Linked DNA regions of Homo sapiens: all the other regions are linked to region 2. The links are contacts of gene promoters, found by promoter capture Hi-C in blood cells and fetal thymus (Javierre and others, 2016). All regions are on one chromosome and are shown on one strand. The core of a region is centred on a gene start or on the middle of the fragment in contact, and the rest is flanking DNA. Distances in the headings are between cores, read along the strand shown.

Region 1 (2,700 bases), core at 185-2,684, 910 kb before region 2:
CACACCCAGCTTTTGTATTTTTAGTAGAGATGGGGTTTCACCGTGTTGGTCAGGCTGGTCTTGAACTCCGGACCTCAGGTGATCCACCCGCCTCGGCCTCCCAAAGTGCTGGGATTACAGGCGTGAGTCACCTTGCCTAGCCTGTTTCTTCTTTACATAAATGGAAACATACTCTACAGTTTGACACCTTGCTTTTATCTACTTAACTATCTTAGAGCTCTTTCTCACATTAGTATAGTTTGAGGATCCCTAATTCAAAAATCTGAAATCTGAAACACTTCTGGTCCTGAGCATTTTGGATAAGGGATACTCAACCTGTATATAAAGAGTCTTCATTTTTAAGGCTATGATCTCCATTCCACCATAAATGACTTAGCCAGTTCCCCATGGTGGACATGGAGGGTTGTTTCCAAATTCTGACTTTTAAAATCAATAGCATAATGAAAACCATGTACAAACAGTCTGCACACATACAAATATATGTGTAGGATTTATTCCCAGCAAGTTTGCTTAGACAAAGGGTTTATGTATGTGTAATTTAGATAGTGGCTGATAAACTGCCCTCCACAGAAGTTGTATCAATTCACATTCCCACTGTAAATGTATAAGAACCCCTCCAATGCCCCCTTTGAGAAAACTCAAGGCTGGTAAAATACTGGGTGGAGAGCACATTGTTACAATCCTCCTGAAAGTTAATTTAAAGAGCTACATGAAATTCATAGAGAAAATCCTCAAAATAGAGTAAGCACATGTTACAAGACAACTAGAAGGGATTCCAAATTTCTAAACACAAGATAACTATACACATATATATTCCTCTGTGTGTATGTAAAATTTAGTGTACACTATGTATGTGTAGACACACGTGTATATTTTAAGAAAAAGCTGCAAGGAAAATTAGTAAAATCCTAATGGTAAGGACCATCTATGGATGGCTAAAGTATGAGGAATTTTACACAAGTTTTCATTTTTTTTTTACTTTTATGCATTTTCCAAGTTTTGCTACAAAGAACTCGCATTACTTTTATGAACAGAAAAAAACATGTCTTTTCCCTAGTTAACAGTAATTTCCACGGAGGAGTTTCTTATCTGTTTCAAAATATCTACAAGGAAATCAGTAGGAATATCATGCTTAGAAAATGTGAACTGAAATGAGAAACAGAAAATATGCAAAGATCTGAAACACTTCTGGTCCCAAGCATTTCGATAAGGAATATTCAAGCTGTATATAGAGTCTTCATTTTTAATGAATTTTTATGATCACCATTCCACCATAAATGACTTAGCCAGTTCCCCATGGTGGACATGGAGGTTCTTTCCAAATTTTTACTTTTAAAATCAATAGCATAATGAAAACCATGTAGCCTGCACACATATAAATATATATGTAGGATTCATTCCCAGCAGGTTTGGTGAGACAAAGGGTTTATGTATTTGTAATTTAGTGACTGATAAACTGCCCTTCATAGAAGATGTATAAGAACCTTCCCACACCCCCTTTGAGAACTCAAGGCTTGTTGAGTTCCAGTTGATTGCTTCATCCCAGCTTACCACCCTGTGGGGCTGCTATAACCTCAGCCAACCCCATGCCCCCTCAGAGAAGTATCAACTGTGACCCCTTCAGGACTGGCCATTTTGGGGGCCAAGGTGGAGGGAATGAGGCAATCACAGGCCTGACTTCCAGAGCTGTCTAGAACCATGCTGTCATTTTTGGTCCCACTGCTTCAGAGGGGAGGAGCTTTCCTGTCTGGATTCCCAAGCCTGTGCCCCAAACTGCTGGTGGAGCAGAAAGGAGGAATGATCCAGAATAGGGTTTTGGTACCAGACTGTTTGGTTCACACTCTGGCTGGGCCACTTGGTAGCACATTACTTCTCCTCTTAGGGCCATCCTGCACTGTTGGTGGCAGTGGGGATGAAGTAAGCAAATCCGAAATGTTTACATGGCAAAATCAACAGGACCTCTAACTCCATGGAGTGGGGAAGGGGAGAGGTCAAGAAGACTGGTTTTCTGGCTTCCATGATGGGATGGCAAGTGGAAACAGCCTCCAGGAAAGGGATCAGGGAAGCAGAGACTAGTCTGGGTGGAAAATGAGTTTTGTTTGGGGTAGGCTGGGTTTGGGGAGCTTTCGGCACACCTCGGGGAGTTGCCCAGTAGCACACAGCAGTTGTTTGGGTCTGAAGCCCAAATCTCAGAAGCACCAGACTGATTTGGTGGTGAGCAGCACAAAGCTAGGGATGTAGATGACACCTGGGGAGGGCGTGGAGCACAAGGTGGACTCTAGGACCCCAGCATTTAGGAAGGGTGACGGGAGGTTGAGAAGTCCCTGAAGAGTTAGAAGGAACCCCACAATGCAAGGAGATGGAGCTCTGCAAAGAGGTTAGCAGGCTTCACAGTCCTGGGGATGAAGAGAGACGACACCAGAGGTAGTACCTTGGACAGTGGTTGCAGTGGGTTCTGTGAAGCAGTGGGGGCGGACAGCAGGTCTGAGGTGTGAGCTGCCACCAAGGGAATAGGGAGCACAAGCGATTCTCCCAAGAGCTTGAAGGAGAAAAGCAGCAGATACGGCTAGCTGCCTCCATCATCCACCAAGGGAATAGGGAGCACAAGCAATTCTCCCAAGAGCTTGAAGAGAAAAGCAGCAGCTACGGCTAGCTGCCTCCATCATCCACTTCCCAGGACTTTTCTCTCCCACCTGTCTC
Region 2 (2,700 bases), core at 180-2,679:
TTTTACAGCAATGTGGATGGAACTGGAGGCCATTATTAAATGAAACAACTCAGAAACAGAAAGTCAAATACCAAATGTTCTCACTTACAAGTGGAAGCTGAATAATGTGTACACATGGACAAAGAGTGTGGAATGACAAACATTGGAGACTCCAAACAGGTAGAAGGATGAGACGAAGATGAGTGATGAAAAATTACTTAATGGATACAATGTACATTATTCAGGCGATGGATACATTAAAAGCCCAGACTTGACCACTATGCAAATATATCCATATAACAAAACTGCACTTGACTCCTTAAATTTATGCAAACAAACAAACAAAAAAAACCCGAGACCGACCTACTCAATCTGATCCTCAGACCATTCTCTGGCCCAGTCCAAGCCCTCCATCCGTCTGGTATCGCCAACCCAATCCCCTTCCTCAGACTCCACACCTTTATGTCCACCTGTCTGTGTGACATATCCATCTTGAGACATTTGAGAATCACCATGTCCAAAATCCAACCTGTGATCTTCTCCCGGAAATCTGCTCTTTATGCTGACTTCCCCAACTCCATTCTTCCAAACGTTCAAACAGAAAACAAAAAACAAAACAAACACTTGAAACGGTTCTTCACTGCCTTTGTTCAGACATAACTGAAGCACCAGGAAAACCTACGGGCCCTATCTTTCAGGCCTATGAAGAATCTCATCACATCTCCCTCTACTGTCACTGGTCCAGCCCCAACCATAATTCTCCTGGGTCTACTGCAGTGGCCTCAGGGCCTTTTCGCGTCTCCCTGTGTCCATTCCTAACCTGGTTTTCCTAACTTGAAACTTCGAACTCTGGACCTGCCCCCTCCAACTGTCCCTCCCTTGACAACCTTCCATGGTTACTGGCTGCTCAGGTTGCCATTCCAAGCGAGAATTCACAAAACCCTCTCTTTCCCGCAGAAACAACACACACCCCTGACGCCCCAACACAGCCCACTCGGCAGCGCCTCCATGCTCTGAACCTGAGGTCCCTAACGGGAGCTCTGAGGCTGCATCAAATCGGCTGATACGGGGACCCCACACAGGAACGCCCCTCTCTTCGGGACAAGGGGCCTGACCTGCAGGGCCCCTTCAGGGGGCTTCAGCACTGGGAGGACCGGTCGGGCGGGGGAGCCTGGGACGGGACACCCACCTCAGTCAGGTTCATCAGCAAGGCCTCCGCCAGCCCAGCCAGGGAAGAGCGGGGCGGGAGCGACAAAGGCAAGACAAGGACGCCACTGTCCCCAGCGCTTGTCAGTTGACTCACTCCCGCCTCTCCGTGGTGGGAACCGAGCCGCTTCTCGCGCTTTTCCGTTCCGTCACTTCGGTGACGTCAGACAGAGCCATAGGCCGAAGTTGGTGAAACACCACACAGAACCAAAACGACCACCACCAGGAGGACGGCGGAAGTCCCGCCCTCCGACGGTGCGCACGCACGCAAACGTCCCCTTCTAAGCCTTTATTGGGTAAGTCGTGCCGCCGAGAGCTGCAGTGTCTTCTGGGTTATGAAGTTTCGACACCGCTTCCGGACTTGTCTTAGAGCGTTGATCAGTCCTTATATGGCAGATAAAGGCCCAGTGGCACTGTCAGGGGAGCTGGGAAACGGAGTCCCCGACTCCAAAGACAGGAGGGGGCTTGGCTTGCTCTTAAAGGCAACATACGGTATTTTTTTGGATTGTAGTATAGGATATTTACAGAAATGTTAGCAACTTATTACTTAAGACTCTATTAAGCACAGCTAATTCCCAATAACTACAGGTCCAAAGAGACACCCCATACCATAAAGGCAGTCTGCCTCTACTCATGCCTGCCAGCCATATTATTGCTTTTCAAATACACATACAGTTACGCTTTGGCGTCTGTTTAGTAAGCTTCAATATGTTTGGTCCAGAAGAAGAAAGAAAGACTACGCAGTTAGGGCTATGGACTGGAATTTGTAGGAAGGATGACAGGAGACGCTGAAGTAGGTTGAAAGGGTGAAGCTATGCCTCTGGATCAAAGAGAATACATCTTACCTGACTGTAGAGTCAGCGATTGTGTTCCTACGAAGGGTGCAACGCTTTTATTCTAATAATACTTACTACTTCATATCTGAGATATTTTCCATTTATTTTAAGAATCACAATCCTATCTGAAAATGAGAGTGACGACCAAAATGAGTGATTGAGGCATAAGTCACAAATCATGGAGGATTACTGGACCAGCCTAAGGGCACATCCAGAAAAATGTAAGTCACAGAAGCATCTGTGGCTGGTTTTTCCAAAGAGGTTCTTAGGAGGTTTAGTATTTATTATACATTTTCCTTAAAAAGGAAGAGGGGTTGGCAGTGAGACAAATGATTACAGACATGTGAAACTTTAGTTAGTGCCCAGTAAATCTACATTTTACATAAGATAGAGTAAACACGTGAGGGGAAAAGGGAATAAAGAAGATGTCTCAGAGAAGGATGAAGGAATGAATAATCTCATCTTCTCTCTGTTCTGTACCTTGGAAGATAAGCTAGTAGTCTTCTGAAAAGGTTGATTTCTATTTAGCCCTTAGGGAAGAAAACCTAATGATTGTAGTGTGGTAGGGGATATAATGAGGTGTGTCTGATTTCCCGTTCCTCTATAGTGGTGAATTCAGCTTCCAAAGTTATTCTAGGGTTCTCATGGTCAAGAGGGCATCCATTCAGTCAGTTAGGGG
Region 3 (2,700 bases), core at 73-2,572, 970 kb before region 2:
CTAGTACAAATTGGGAAAAATTGGTACAAAAAGAGCTCGTGGAGGCCGGGTGCAGTGGCTCGGGTCTGTAATCCTAGCACTTTGGGAGGCCAAGGTGGGAGGATCACTTGAGCCCAGAAGTTCAAGACCAGCCTGGGCCATATAGCGAGACCCCGTCTCTAGCTATTCATTTATTTTAGCTTACAGCATCTGGTCTATGTTGTTTTTTGAGACGGAGTCTTGCTCTGTCACCCAGGCTGGAGTGTGCAGTGGCACGACCTCAGCTCACTGTAACTTCTGCCTCCCCGGTTCAAGCGATTCTCCTGCCTCAGCCTCCCGAGTAGCTGGGATTATAGGCACACGCCAACAAGCCTAATTTTTGTATTTTCAGTAGAGACGGGGTTTCACCATGTTGGTCAGGCTGGTCTCGAACTCCTGACCTCGTGATCTGCCCGCCTCGGCCTCCCAAAGTTCTGGGATTACAGGCGTGAGCCACCGCGCCCGGTTTATTTATTTATTTTAGCCAACAGCACTCGGTGTTCCCAGACGGTCTCCCAAGTACTAACCAGGCCCGACCCTGCTTAGCTTCTGAGATCCCGACTCAATTTTTTTTTTTTTTTTTTGAGACGGAGTCTCGTTCTGTCGCCCCAGGCTGGAGTGCAGTGTCGCGATCTCGGCTCACTGCAAGCTCCGCCTCCCAGGTTCAAGCGATTCTCCTGCCTCAGCCTCCCGAGTAGCTGGGACTACAGGCGCCCGCCACCACGCCCGGCTAATTTTTTGTATTTTTAGTAGAGACGGGGTTTCTCCGTGTTAGCCAGGATGGTCTCGATCTCCTGACCTCGTGATCCGCCCGCCTCGACCTCCCAAAGTGCTGGGATTACAGGCGTGAGTCACCGCGCCCGGCCCCCGACTCTATTTTAAAAACCGCGTGGATTCCAGCTTGGTGGGTGTTCCACAGCGCGTGGGTGTGAGACGCAGCTCAGTGGCGTCAACTCAGCAAGGTTCCAGGGTGGTAAAGACGGCCTGGGGCCGGAGGAGGACCGCCAGGGAGAAGCTACGTTGGCCCGACTTGCGTCCGCGACCCGGGCAGCCCCAGGCGCCTGTGTAGCTGTTGGGTGTGTGCCGCAGAGGCTGGCCGGGTGCAGGAAGGGGCGGAGCGCATCCATGGCAACGCAGGACGCCCGAGTAGCTTGGCTGTGGCGCCGTCCCCATGGGAACCAGAAGGCGCGCGCCCGCAGCCGCGGCATAGTTACGCAGGCGCAGTGGGGAGAAACGCGACGCCTTGGGCCGCTCTGCCGAATGCAACCGCGCCCCCAGGAGACCCGGTGCCCGCCCTCCTACCATTCCACGCGGCTCGAGCCCGCGTGCGGGCCTCTTTCAGGCCGCTCCTAGTGGACGCAGAGGCGGGCCGAGGACGGTGAGTGACGCCGACGGACACCCTCGGCCAGGCACAGATCCGCCCTCCGGCTCCAACCACTCCCGCCGCGCGGGGCAGGACGGGCCTCGGCCCTGAGCTGGGCCCTCTGGGACCACCGAGAGATAGGCCTCCGCGCCGTCCAGAGCGGCCCGGAAGTGGCCCTGCACGGGCCAGAGGCGACCGTGGTCGGGACGGAAATGGCTCCCGTTTGCTGTTCTCTCGGTGAACGCGAGCCTTATGGCGATCAGTTCTGTGGCATCGTTCCTCCTGCTCGTTTATTCTTTCACTCATTCACTCATGCCCTGCCGCGCCATCATTTCTTCCCACATTCATTTATTCGTTCATCAGTCCCCAGCCCCGGGTAGTTTCGGAGCTCACCAGGCTGGGCTCGCCTCCCAGCCTCCGGAGCTGCCCGCACAGGCCTCGCGCCACCTGGCCGCAGCTTCCTCCCCTTTATCCACTCCGTATTTGTTTGTCCAGCCTAGGCCTTGGGGGTTGTGGGGGAGACACAAGTACCCGTGACTGGTCGGACAAGTGCCCGTTGTTGGGGGCGTGGGCGCTGGGACTGACGCGGGAGGTGGCTCTGATCATGTCGAGGTGAGGAGGAGGCGTTGAGGCTCAGAAAGGGCACGCAGCGTGGACGTGAGGACGTCGGGGAGGCTGGAGCAGTGAGGCCGACAGGAAGGACCTTACGGGGCTCACATGCTATCCCACGACGAGGACGGACTCAGGACGGCAGCCCTGATAGATGCGGCTGGGGGCTGGCGGGTCGGGGTCGCACACCACAGGATGGAGGGGCAGCGGTGCCTGGCTCCGCCTTAAGAAACATGGGCCCTTGGGGGACCCGGATTTCTGATACTTCAATACACAAATATGGATTTTTATTGAAATCAGATGTCGTTTTTTTAAAATTTAACTTTTGATTTGAGGTAATTATAAATTCACATGCAGTAACAAGTAATGCATACCCTATGTACGCTTTACCCAATTCCCCTAAAGGTGGCATCTTGAAAAACTAGAGGCCAGGTGCGGTGGCTCATGTCTGTAATCCCAGCACTTTGGGAGGCCAAGGCGGGTGGATCCCTTGAGCTCAGGAGTTAAAGACCAGCCTGAGCAACATGGTGAAACCCCATCTGTACTGAAAACACAAAAATTAGGCGGGTGTGGAGGCTGGTGCCTGTAATCCCAGCTACTCGGGAGTCTCAGGCAGGAGAATCGCTTGTACCCAGGAGGCGGAGGTCGCGGTGAGCCCACATCACGCCACTGCACTCCAACCTGGGCAACAGAGCGAGACTCTGTCTCAA
Region 4 (2,700 bases), core at 198-2,697, 990 kb after region 2:
CATTGAGCACAGTGCTTAATTTTCATCTTTCTGTCATTTATTTTCATAACCAGCACATGGTAGGTCTCCCATTCCTTTTTCCTTTTAAATTCCTCACGTGCCCCCAGAGACTGAGAGGGATGGAAAAACTACTGTGCCAGAGGACAAGCAGCCAGCGTGGTCAGCTTTTCAGGCTTAAGGCTGAGGCTCCTGTCTGTCTCTCCCTTTTCAGCTCTCGTCCCTCCCTTTCTCCATCTTTTCCCCTTTATCTCAATCTTTCTGTCTCTCCACCACAACAGCAGTCTCCCAAACCCCAGAGCACACCAGCATCTCCAAGCACCCACACAGCTTCCTGCCCACACAAATCACAGACAACAAACCACATAGTTTCTCATTCTGGCACCTCCCCTGGCAACCTATGGACATGCCCCCACATTGTAGCCCGCCCTGCTCTCACAATGGGTCATATAAGGCCATTCTCAGTCACACTGTCACACTCACTGTCGGGATGACATACAGTGCTAAGTCACACCATCTCCCTCAGTCTCACATAATCACACACACTGTCATGCACAATCTCAAACACTGTCACATACAATCTTAGTCCAACAACAAAAACTCTGTTCACATACAGTTTCACATACAGTGACACAGTCTCACACACTGTCACACAAATTCTGTCGCAGTTTCATGTGGTCCCATATCAACAGCCACACACCGTACACAACCACACATAGCCTCACACACGGTGACATGGTCTCACATACTGTCACAGTCTCATCTAATCCTACACACACGGTCAAGCTCTGTTCACAAAGTCACACACACTGTCACACAGTCTTACATTATCCCACACACACAGGTCACACACACAGTGACATGGTCTTACACACTGTTCACACGTGGTCTACACATAATGACAGTTTAACACTGTCACACATTCCCAGTCTCACACATGGTGACGTGGTCTTAAGCACATACAGTGTCACACAGTCCCACACGGTCCCATATACTGTCAAAGGCTCCCGCATACACCGGGGCAACGGTCTCATACTGTCGCACACATTCTCACACCCAGTCTCATACTGTCACACATAGTCCCACATTTGTCCCACATGGTCTCACACTGACACACATATTCACACACGGCCTCACATTCTCACACTGTCACACACGGTCTCAAATTCTCACACAGTCACACATGGTCTCACACACGATTCCACACTGTCAAACACATTGTCACACACGGTTCCTTAATGTCTCACACATTCTCACACACTGTCACACACGGTCCCACACATGGTGGCATGGCCGCTCCCGGCGTCAGCTCCATCCCGCGCTCCTCACCGCCTCCTCCCTCCAGTGGGCACCTCCTTCGGCGCGGTCCTTGGAGGCCGGGGCTGGGCCAGGGCCCGGGCCAGGGCTCGATCCTGGCCGGCGGCCGCGCTCACAAAGGCGCCGCAGCCCTAGGGCAGGCCGCAGGGGCCGCTGGGAAATGGAGTCCGGGGCCGGCGCGGCGCAGAGGATGCTGGGATGTTGGCCGAGGGCCCCGGGCGGCCGCAGATCCCGCCGCTCAGTTGCGGGTAGTTACTGCTGCGCCCCTTTCCCTAGTAAGCCCACCTCCGCTGGCCTTCAGAATCCCACCCGGACCAGCTGAGCCCTCTCAGGCCGTTCGACTGTCCGCTCCCCCACCCGTTCCACCCGTTCCACCTGCGCAGGCGCAGCTGGTTCAGGTCCCCAAAGGCTGCCAGGCCGGGGTGCCAGCGCGGTGAGGCGCACGCGCAGTGACCGCGTCCGCGCTCCAGCGCTCCGGGTGGGGCTGTGAGTCCATCGCTGAGAAAAGGGAGCTGGAGGACCAGTGTGGAGCCTGAGCCAGCTGGAGAGGGGCCCGGTAGGATGTACGTGTGATTAAGCGCTCTGGCGGCCCGGGCTTTCTCTTTCCCTTTCTGTTTCTTCTCTCTCCGCCTTGCCCTGTCTTTCATTCGCCACTTATTGAGCGCCTGCTGTATCGGGCACTGTCGTGGGCCCTGGGCACACAGCAGTGAACAAGCAGACAAAATCCCCACCTCATGGAGCAGCATTCTAATGCGGGAGGAATTCAATAGGAAAAAATTAATAATAAAGGACACTGATGCATATTGGGAAGTAATGCGTATTATCAAGAAAAGCGAAGCAGAGTATTAAGATCATTCTTTCAGTTCTTCATTCTTTCAGTTATGCCCTCTGAATCAGTGGAAAAAACGCAAGGTGCATTTTTTTCTATTATCTCAACGACAACTAATCATAACAGAAGACTTTTCTGACCAAATATAGGGGAGTTTCCCACACATCTCAAGCAAGCAATGAGTTCAGTGAGTTCTGCAGCGGGCACCAGCTGGGTGTCCTCCAGTTTAATTCCGACGCCGTCTACTTGGAGATGGGTCAGACACCATTCGCTGAGGGCTCAGTCCCCAAGCCTGCCTCCCCCTTCCCACTTCCCACTAAAGTCTAGCCTCTGGAACATCTGACTCCACCACCTTCAAATTGGGATTTTCACCACCCCCTCTTTGCGGTTCGATATTTTGCTAGAGTGGCTCACGGAACTCAGGAAACACTTATGTTTACTAGTTTATTATAAAGGATATTACAAATGATATAGATGAAGAGATGCGTAGGGCAAAGTACAGAAAAAAGGGTGTTGCACCTTCCAGTAACCTCCACATGTTCAGCTGGGTGGAAGCT
Region 5 (2,700 bases), core at 1-2,500, 800 kb before region 2:
TAAGCCTATATAAGAAAGTCTGGCTGGAAATACACACCAGGGTTACCAGTGATTATGAGGGGAGGGCAGTAGACAATGCGTGTAACAGACTAAGGGAGCCCCTACTGTCAACACAAGTATCACCTGCCACCAGCAACAGGTTCACTTTCAACCAAGTAGGACACTGCTGACTGTGGAGCCAGAGAAAAACTTCGAGTTTGGTTCTGCAACTGCTCATCACAGCATCCCACCTGGGGTATCCCAATGTCTACTGCTTTTCCAAGATACTGGTCCCTGACTCATCAGTTGGCCCCTTCCCTGTGGGGGCTTCCCATGTCTGGTTCTCACCTGGAATGGTGTCTTGAGGAATTCCTCTCTCCACTGGCCAGAAATCTTCTGCCTCCTCTAACTGAGATACCACATCTGGTTTGGAAAGCTGATGTTCTGCTCAAAGGAAAAGAGACAGGGCTTGTGGGGGTCTGTGTTCAGGAGAAAATGCTATCCTACTGCAGCACAAGCCGTCTCCAGCTTCTCCCCTGCTAAGGCACATGACTTCTGGCCTAGAGCAGTGAACACAACTCCATCCATCCCTGTTGTTGGCTTTCCTAGACTCCTTTGCCAAGCAGCTAAGGGGTCCAGTTCTGGTCAGCCAGACACAAAGGGAGATCGGTCAGCTGGGAAAGCTTTTGCTTTCTGGTTAAACATGACAGCTGTGAAAGGGCTACCCCTTCTCCTTGTTTCTGCCTTGAACACAGATGCAATGCTTGGAGCCACAGCTGTGCAATGACTAGGGGGAACATGGAAAGGTTCACAATAACCAGAGTTTGAAGGGACAGGCTTTTTTTTTTTTTTTTTGAGACGGAGTCTTGCTCAGTTGCCCAAGCTGGAGTGCTGTGATCTGATCTCAGCTCACTGCAATCTCCTCCACCTCCCATGTTCAAGCAGTTCTCCTGGCTCAGCCTCCTGAGTAGCTGGGGTGCTCGGCTAATTTTTGTATTTTTAGTAAAGACAGGGTTTCATCATGTTGGTCAGGTTGGTCTAGAACTCCTGACCTCAACTGATCTGCCTGCCTCAGCCTCCCAAAGTGCCAGGATTACAGGCGTAAGCTACCGTGCCTGGCAGGGACAGGCTCTTTGATGCTACTCCTAAGCTGTTGGGACACTGGCATCGCATTGTCTGGAATTTCTGTGGAGTTTCTTTTTTTTTTTTTTTTTAATAGAGACACGGTCTATGTTGCCCATGCTGGTCTCAAACTCCTGGGCTCAAGCAATCCTCCTGCTTCAGTCTCCTAAAGTGAGCCACCATGCCTGGCCGGAACTCTTGTTGCAAGAACAATAAGCATCCACTACTGCAGCTGAAAACATCCCTGACAGACCCATCTCCCTGGTATTCAGGGAGGGATGGACTAGGCAATGATTCAGAAGTCATACTGAAAAGCTGCCCTTTTCCTACTGGTGCCCCTGCAGTGTGAGCCCAAGCAGACACATACTTCAGAGGTGCTACATTTGTGCTACAAAGCACAGATCCTTCTTGACCTGGAGGCCAGCCTTACCCACTGAGACCAGGTTCCTGTAGTTCTCCAGCATCACTTCCCTGTACAGGGACTTCTGTTTGAGGTCCAGCAGTCCCCACTCTTCCGGGGTAAAACCCAGTGTTACATCTTCAAAGGTCACTGGTTCCTAAAAATCCAGATTCTTGTTCAGCCACAGGCCATCCGCATCCACGACAAAAGAAAGACAGGGGAGGCTGACCAGGCCAGTGAAAGCACAGAATGGTCTACAAGATGACCCAAGGGCATTTTGGGAGTCTCATCCTGAGTTCCTGTCTTTGTCTGAAACCCCAAGCAAACCCAAGCTTGACTCTATTCAGGTTACAATAAGGAGAGCAACACATGAGATCTCTGTAGCATATGAAAATCTGTCCATTTTATTTATTTATTTATTTATTTAATTTATTTATTTATTGTTTTGAGACAGAGTCTCACTCTGTCTCCTAGTGGAGTGCAGTGGCGCAATCTTGGCTCACTGCAGCCTCCACCTCCCAGGTTCAAGCGATTCTCCTGCCTCAGCCTCCTGAGTAGCTGGGATTACAGGCGCATACCACCATGCCCGGCTAATTTTTGTATTTTTAGTAGAGATGGGGTTTCACCATGTTGGTCAAGCTGGTCTCGAACTCCTGACCTTGTGATCTGCCTGCCTCGGCCTCCCAAAGTGCTGGGATTACACATGTGAGCCACCGCACCCGGCCCTATTTTTCTTTTCTTTTTTTTTTGAGACGGAGTCTCTCTCTGTCGCCCAGGCTGGAGTGCAGTGGCGCCATCTCGGCTCACTGCAAGCTCCGCCTCCCCGGTTCACGCCATTCTCCTGCCTCAGCCTCCCGAGTAGCTGGGACTACAGGCGCCCGCCACCACGCCCGGCTAATTTTTTGTATTTTTTTAAGTAGAGACGGGGTTTCACTATGTTAGCCAGGATGGTCTCAATCTCCTGACCTCGTGATCCACCTGCCTCGGCCTCCCAAAGTGCTGGGATTACAGACGTGAGCCACCGCGCCCGGCCCCCTATTTCTTATTCATTTGAAAATTCTGACTTTGGGAGTGGTGCGTATGCCTCCTAGGGAATTCTCTGAGCTGCACCATCACACCCAAGCCGTCAGCCCCTACCCAGGGCCCTGATGCTTCTTTCTATCTCCTTCACCTGTCAGGGATCCATCCTCACCTGTCTT
Region 6 (2,700 bases), core at 201-2,700, 840 kb before region 2:
CCATCACATTTACTGTGAGAACTAGTCTTATTTCTGGCATTACATATTATATTTTGTATTAGTTTTCAAGTTCAAGACCAGCCTGGACAACATGGAGAAACCCTGTCTATACTAAAAAAAAAAAAAATTAGCTGGGCGTGGCGGCACACATCTGTAATCCCAGTAACTTGGGAGGCTGAGGCACAAGAATCGCTTGAACCCAGGAGGCGGAGACTGCAGTGAGCCGAGGTCATGCCACCATTCCAGCCTAGGTGACAGAGCAAGACCTTGTCTCAAGAAAAAAACAAAACAAAACAAAAAACACACCAGGACTATTTTTTGAACTTGACAAAATATTTAAGCTTCTTTAATGAAAATAGAGACCTACGAAAAAGAGAGGTGACAGTCACAAACAGATAGTTCACAATAAAATAAACTACATGGCTGAAAAATGTACAAAGCTGCTCTGTATTAAAGACATATAATCCCAGCACTTTGTGAGGCCAAGGCAGGAGGCTCTCTTGAGGCTAGAAGTTCGAGACAAGCCTGGGCAACATGTGAGACCCCATTTATAAAAAAATAAATAATAAAGACATGAATTAAAACACACCGGGGCCTATGATCTCAGCTTCCTTCCCTAGCAAATGCCCCAGGCCTTCCTACCTTTCAAAATCCACTGACCACTCAGGCTGTACTTCCTACAGGCCAGGCACTGTACCCTGTCCTCTGCCTGAATTCATGCATTTGATCTTCCTTGTAACCCCACAAAGACAATTAACAGAATTTACCCTGCTTTCTAAATGAGGAAACCAAGGCAGAAAGAACTTGAGTAAAATTTAACTGAGGCCTCGTGGCTGGGGAGTGAGAAGGTGGGAGCTCCATAGCTCATGGCCCTAAGCACACTACCACTCAGGCTCCCAGCCTCCCCGTCTGGTACACCCCACCCCAGCCCAGCCCAATGCCCCTGTTCTTTTTCTTAACATCCTTGGCCTGAGGCCCACCTCTTGGCCTCTCTGATCTGTTTGTTCTGTGCAATCTGCCTATGCCCTTGACTGCCCTCTCTGCCCAACCCTGCTAGTTTCTGAGTTCTGGGTGGTATAGGAGTTCAGGAACACCAGTATCCACTCAGTCACTATCCCCTTACAGCTGCGAGCTCATGCTCTCACACCCTACTTCAGTCCCCTCCCACCACTGTCCTCTCTGTGCAGACAAATCGGCCTTTTAATTCACTCCAAGGGATGACTCTGGACTCTTTCAACCTCCTGGCACACAAACTCCTGCAGGCCTGCACTCATTAGTAGCTCCCTTCAAATTCTGAGCTGAGATGTCTTCTCCCTGGTCAAGATGAATCCATATCCCAGTGCCCCACCCCCTGCCTCTTCTCCTCTCAGGTGAGGCCTGAACAGAGTGACCAACACTCTCAGTTTCCCCCTCCTCATCTTGCCCATCCTGCTCTGCTCTCTCACTCCCAAACACACACACAAACACAAATGTAGACCACATCCAAGAGGTCTGCCCAATATCTTATGTGTTACTATCTTGTCCTGATGCTCCTGGCCTTCCCTGGGGAATCTCTCACTGCCTGTGTCCATCTTTGCTCTCTAACCCTGTCCTTCCTTGTCTGGAGGCATCCAAGGGCAACGGCTGAGAACACTCACTTTGCAACCTGCTGTCAAAGTACTGGCTCCATTACCTGCCACTGTAGGACTCTGAACGGGTCTCTTTAACCTCTCCAGGCCTCAGTTTCCTCATCCGTAGACATCTGGAAAAACAGCAAGACCTGCCTTGTGAGGATGCTAAAAGAATTAATTGAGTTGCATTTACAGAGCTTAACATTGTGTTAACCTGCAAAAGGGGCACAACACATGTATTCATAGTGATTATACTTGGACATAAAATTCCCCATCTGTTCCTCATACTGGACCTGTATGGTGGCTGATCTGGCAGAAGTCCCTCTGGCTGCAGGGCTGGGGAGGGAGTTGCTTTCTCTTTCCTTTTCCAGTTTTCTCCTTCCCTGCTTGTGGGGTGACGTTTCCAATCTGCTCCAGGTTACGTGTCCAGCCCAAACCTCCTGGGCTTCCTGCCACTGCCATTCCCTCCTCCACATTCAGCCATGTCACCCACATGCTCCTCAACTCCCATGCAGAGACTGACCAGGCATACCACATCTTCCTTGCACTGTGACTTCTACCCTGGCTCCACGCTGGAAACAGAAACACAGTCTTCCTCCACTCCTTCCTGTCTTTTGGCATCCCTCCTTACACGGAGTCATTTCCACAATCAGATGTTTCCCTACTCCCTTAGACTCTTGAAATCCAACCCCATGCCTTCCTCATTAGCACTGCCTTGTACGGTCCCCATCAAATATCACCCAACACAAATGGAACCCCGATCCCTAACTTACAGGCGTTACATACACATCCCATCCTGTTCACCTCTGTAGTCTCTCTATGGGGTGCACCAGCATCGCTTAACCAGTGCAGGCCCCCAACACCCCAGTTACCCCTGCCCTGCGTGGACTGGCCTTAATCTTCTGTTCACTTGGAAAATACACATGTTCTCTGCAAGGTTCAAGCTTCACGTACCATTGGAAGAAAATGTGTCCACGTCTGGAGCTGGGATGACCTCTGGGGTCCAATAGGCGTCACCTGCCTGGTGCCGCTGTGCCAGGAGGCTCTTGGCTGCCACCTGTGGATAAGCCGCAGAAGATGAGTTGAGGGA
Region 7 (2,700 bases), core at 175-2,674, 890 kb before region 2:
TGGGAAGCCAGATGCCATGTTGCAAGGATCCCTAGCAGTTCCAAAGAGAGGCCTACATGGAGAACAACTGAGGTCTCCTATCAACAGACATGTGAGTGAGCCATCCTGGAGGTGGATCCTCCAGACTCAGGTCTCAGGTGACAACAGCTATGCTGACATCTTCACTGTAACTTCATGGGCCTGAACCAGAACCACCAGCTAGGACATTCCATTACTCCTGTCAGAACTCGTGAGATATTTATTGTTGTTCCAGGTCACGAAGTTTTGAGTTACACAGCAACAGGTAACTAATACACTTTCTCTCAAGCCTTTCTTACGACTCATTCCTTGTCCCCCATCCACAGCAAGAACAAAATAAAACGTGGTAGCATTTCATGCAAATTTGGAGCAACACACATCTGAAAACCTGCAACCTAAGATTATCAAGTCTCACTTTGTGTACCAAATCTGAAATAATGCAAATCCCCATGAACAAACCAACGACAAAAAATAAAAAAAAGTATAATTTCAAAGTTGCAGAGCTTGAGGAAGGATAATTATTGTTGTTTCCTGCCACGCGAGGCAGCTTTATGGAGAACACAGGCCGCAACCACTTTGTCTAGAAAGTGGAGCTCTGATGGCCAGATGGCCCTGCAAACACTGACCGCCCTGCACTGCAGTTCTCCCACAGTCTCGCAGGGGACGACCCTGGTGGTCACTCTCATCACACTCAGTGCGTGGTGACCCATCATTGCCCCCAAGAGGTTGTGCCCAAGCCCCAGGGCAGGGGCTCCGCGGTGCTGGGGTCCCGGTGGGTGTCCGCTGACTCCACGCGTTAAAGCATCTCTATTCGATGATTCTTGCCATCTGGGCACCCGGCCAACGCTACAATTACTGTTATCAGTCAACACGAGGACAGACCTTCCTGGAATGGGCAAGGGTGTCGGCGGGGCGGAGCAGAACGCAGGAGATGGGCCTGCTCGATTCTCTCGGGAATGACCGACCCCAGCCCTGGGGAGGACAGAGCCGCGTGGAGCATGCGCATTCGGGGGCCAGGCGCCTGGTTGGAATCCCGGCCCCCTCTCTGACCAGCCAGGACGGTCACCACGCCCCGACCCGCGTCTGAGTTTCCCCACGTGTCAAGGGCATTAACAGCGGTGCCGCTCTCATCGCGCCGCGAGGTGAAAGGGTCAGTCTGCGCGGGAGACGCTTGCCCGGAGCCCGCCGCCGTCGTTATTGTTGTTATTGTTACCTGAAGCCGGGCCGCCGGCGGCCCCACAGACATCACTCCCGCTACCCCTTCGTCCTCGGGGTCCATGCTGGATCGCCCAGTGAAGGACAGCGCCTGAGGTGATCCCCAGACCAGAGAGGCACTCCAGCCAAAGGGACCACCCGACTCGCCGAACGCCGGACAATGGCGGCCGCACCGGCGACGCGGCGACTACAACTCCCAGTAGGCCGTGCGGCGAACCACAGCCCTCGGCCAATGGGAGTCTCCGCTGGTCTGGCCTTCGACCAATGGAAGCATTATGGCCGATGGCCAATGGGAGCCCCCACCCGCTGGCCTCTGGCCAATGGGAGCACTCAGCTAAGGCTGGTGGGGGCGGTGTTGCTCGGGGCTGCGATGCCCCTTAGGTTGCGGGCAACCAGAGGCCTCACTCGTGGGCAGGAAGCAAGGGCGGACCCCGAGAGATGACTGATTGTGGGGGTGGGGACCGTCTGCTCCTCCTAATGGCTGGGGACCGTGCACGTCTGCGCGGGCCGGACCTGCTCTTCTCGGGAACTTGCGCGGGAGGAGGCCCGGAGCTGCGCCGCTTTACCCTCTGCTCCCCGGTGCCTAAAACGCACACGCATCAAAGTCACAGGACGAGTTAGAGGTTTGTTCATATAAAAGACTTTGGGCTTAGCGGCTGGAAGCGGGGAGGCTGGGAGCGGTGGTTGTGTTACAGGAAAGGGGTCCGATTCAGACCCCAAGGGAGGGTTCTTGGATCTCGCGCAAGAAAAAATTCAGGGCGAGTCCGCAGTGCAAAGTAAAAGCAAGTTTGTTGAGAAAGTAAAGTTGTGAAACAGCTACCCCATAGACAGTAGGACGTTCCTGAAAGTAAGAGGAACGTATGCACCCTAGGTACAATGCTTGTGTATATTTGGGCTAAAAATAGATTTTGGGGAGATGTGCTCTGCTACAAGGGTTTGTGAAAAAGGATTAATTTTCTTACTGTATTTTTCAAGAATCGATATTATTTTTAAAGCAAAATTAGGAATGCCTTTGTTCTCTAGATACCGGGATATCTGGACACTCCCAAGTCTGGGTCTGTTTTAGTACCCATTATTAATTTGTTCCCTTAACCGTAAACATCTAGAGGTTAGGAATACCTACTTTTCTGGGAATGCAGCCCAGCCTCATTTTCCTAGCCCTCACTCAAAATGGAGTCGCTCTGGGTCGAATGCCTCTGACAGCCCTATTGCTTCTCCCTGTGGGTGTTCACTTTGTGATGTGTCTTTTTCTGTGGGTCTGTTGTAGTCCATTAAAATGTTTATTAAAGGTCGGGCGCGGTGGCTAACGCCTATAATCCCAGCACTTTGGGAAGTCGAGGCGGGTGGATCACGATGTCAGGAGCTCGAGACCAACCTGGCCAATATGGTGAAACCCCGTCTCTACTAAAAATACAAAAATTAGCCCGGCGTGGTGGCGGGCACCTGTAGTCCCAGCTTCTCGGGAGG

What was found. Contacts are between HindIII fragments. The CHiCAGO score rates a contact against its expected background, and 5 or more counts as called.
Region 1: a fragment that was not itself captured here is called in contact with the fragment with the promoter of ZNF548 in region 2 in 1 of 17 cell types (total B cells); the score reaches 5.7 in total B cells.
Region 3: the fragment with the promoter of ZNF497 here is called in contact with the fragment with the promoter of ZNF548 in region 2 in 5 of 17 cell types (non-activated CD4 T cells, naive CD4 T cells, naive CD8 T cells and 2 more); the score reaches 10.3 in non-activated CD4 T cells.
Region 4: a contact is called between the fragment with the promoter of ZNF583 here and the fragment with the promoter of ZNF548 in region 2, in 2 of 17 cell types (total CD8 T cells and naive CD4 T cells). The highest score is 5.4, in total CD8 T cells.
Region 5: a contact is called between a fragment that was not itself captured here and the fragment with the promoter of ZNF548 in region 2, in 6 of 17 cell types (naive CD8 T cells, naive CD4 T cells, non-activated CD4 T cells and 3 more). The highest score is 6.5, in naive CD8 T cells.
Region 6: a fragment that was not itself captured here is called in contact with the fragment with the promoter of ZNF548 in region 2 in 2 of 17 cell types (total B cells and naive CD8 T cells); the score reaches 7.7 in total B cells.
Region 7: a contact is called between the fragment with the promoter of ZNF8 here and the fragment with the promoter of ZNF548 in region 2, in 1 of 17 cell types (neutrophils). The highest score is 6.5, in neutrophils.

The regions. Positions count from the first base shown.
Region 1 is chr19:58,300,569-58,303,268 of GRCh38, reverse strand. It overlaps ZNF8 (zinc finger protein 8), which reads right to left. Exons shown (of 4, transcript NM_021089.3): 4 at 478-2,700. The region is part of intron 4 of ZNF8-ERVK3-1 (ZNF8-ERVK3-1 readthrough (NMD candidate)); the gene reads right to left. Among named protein-coding and RNA genes, the nearest start is that of ERVK3-1, 3.5 kb to the left of the region's middle. The HindIII fragment of the contact is 9,060 bases long and covers 1-2,700 here.
Region 2 is chr19:57,388,583-57,391,282 of GRCh38, reverse strand. It overlaps ZNF548 (zinc finger protein 548), which reads right to left and starts at 1,429. Exons shown (of 4, transcript NM_001172773.2): 1 at 1,169-1,429. The coding sequence starts at 1,183. RefSeq lists enhancers at 1,172-1,651, 1,792-1,871. The HindIII fragment of the contact is 17,908 bases long and covers 1-1,888 here.
Region 3 is chr19:58,361,373-58,364,072 of GRCh38, reverse strand. It overlaps ZNF497 (zinc finger protein 497), which reads left to right and starts at 1,322. Exons shown (of 3, transcript NM_198458.3): 1 at 1,322-1,396. It overlaps ZNF497-AS1 (ZNF497 antisense RNA 1), which reads right to left and starts at 1,447. Exons shown (of 3, transcript NR_136527.1): 1 at 1,321-1,447. It also overlaps the pseudogene RNA5SP473. RefSeq lists enhancers at 1,628-1,757, 1,487-2,035. The HindIII fragment of the contact is 6,825 bases long and covers 1-2,700 here.
Region 4 is chr19:56,403,079-56,405,778 of GRCh38, reverse strand. It overlaps ZNF583 (zinc finger protein 583), which reads right to left and starts at 1,447. Exons shown (of 5, transcript NM_152478.3): 1 at 1,327-1,447. RefSeq lists a silencer at 1,214-1,423 and an enhancer at 1,884-2,023. The HindIII fragment of the contact is 8,045 bases long and covers 1-2,700 here.
Region 5 is chr19:58,184,670-58,187,369 of GRCh38, reverse strand. It overlaps ZNF274 (zinc finger protein 274), which reads right to left. Exons shown (of 8, transcript NM_133502.3): 3 at 1,532-1,658; 4 at 328-423. Among named protein-coding and RNA genes, the nearest start is that of ZNF274, 3.0 kb to the right of the region's middle. The HindIII fragment of the contact is 1,171 bases long and covers 665-1,835 here.
Region 6 is chr19:58,229,435-58,232,134 of GRCh38, reverse strand. It overlaps ZNF544 (zinc finger protein 544), which reads right to left. Exons shown (of 7, transcript NM_014480.4): 2 at 2,565-2,667; 3 at 1,673-1,741. Among named protein-coding and RNA genes, the nearest start is that of ZNF544, 1.9 kb to the right of the region's middle. RefSeq lists an enhancer at 2,519-2,700. The HindIII fragment of the contact is 2,213 bases long and covers 344-2,556 here.
Region 7 is chr19:58,277,679-58,280,378 of GRCh38, reverse strand. ZNF8 (zinc finger protein 8) reads right to left here and starts at 1,424. Exons shown (of 4, transcript NM_021089.3): 1 at 1,232-1,424. The coding sequence starts at 1,297. ZNF8-DT (ZNF8 divergent transcript) reads left to right here and starts at 1,637. Exons shown (of 3, transcript NR_187495.1): 1 at 1,637-1,856. It overlaps ZNF8-ERVK3-1 (ZNF8-ERVK3-1 readthrough (NMD candidate)), which reads right to left and starts at 1,413. Exons shown (of 7, transcript NR_144447.1): 1 at 1-1,413. RefSeq lists enhancers at 829-878, 1,299-1,348. The HindIII fragment of the contact is 22,069 bases long and covers 1-2,700 here.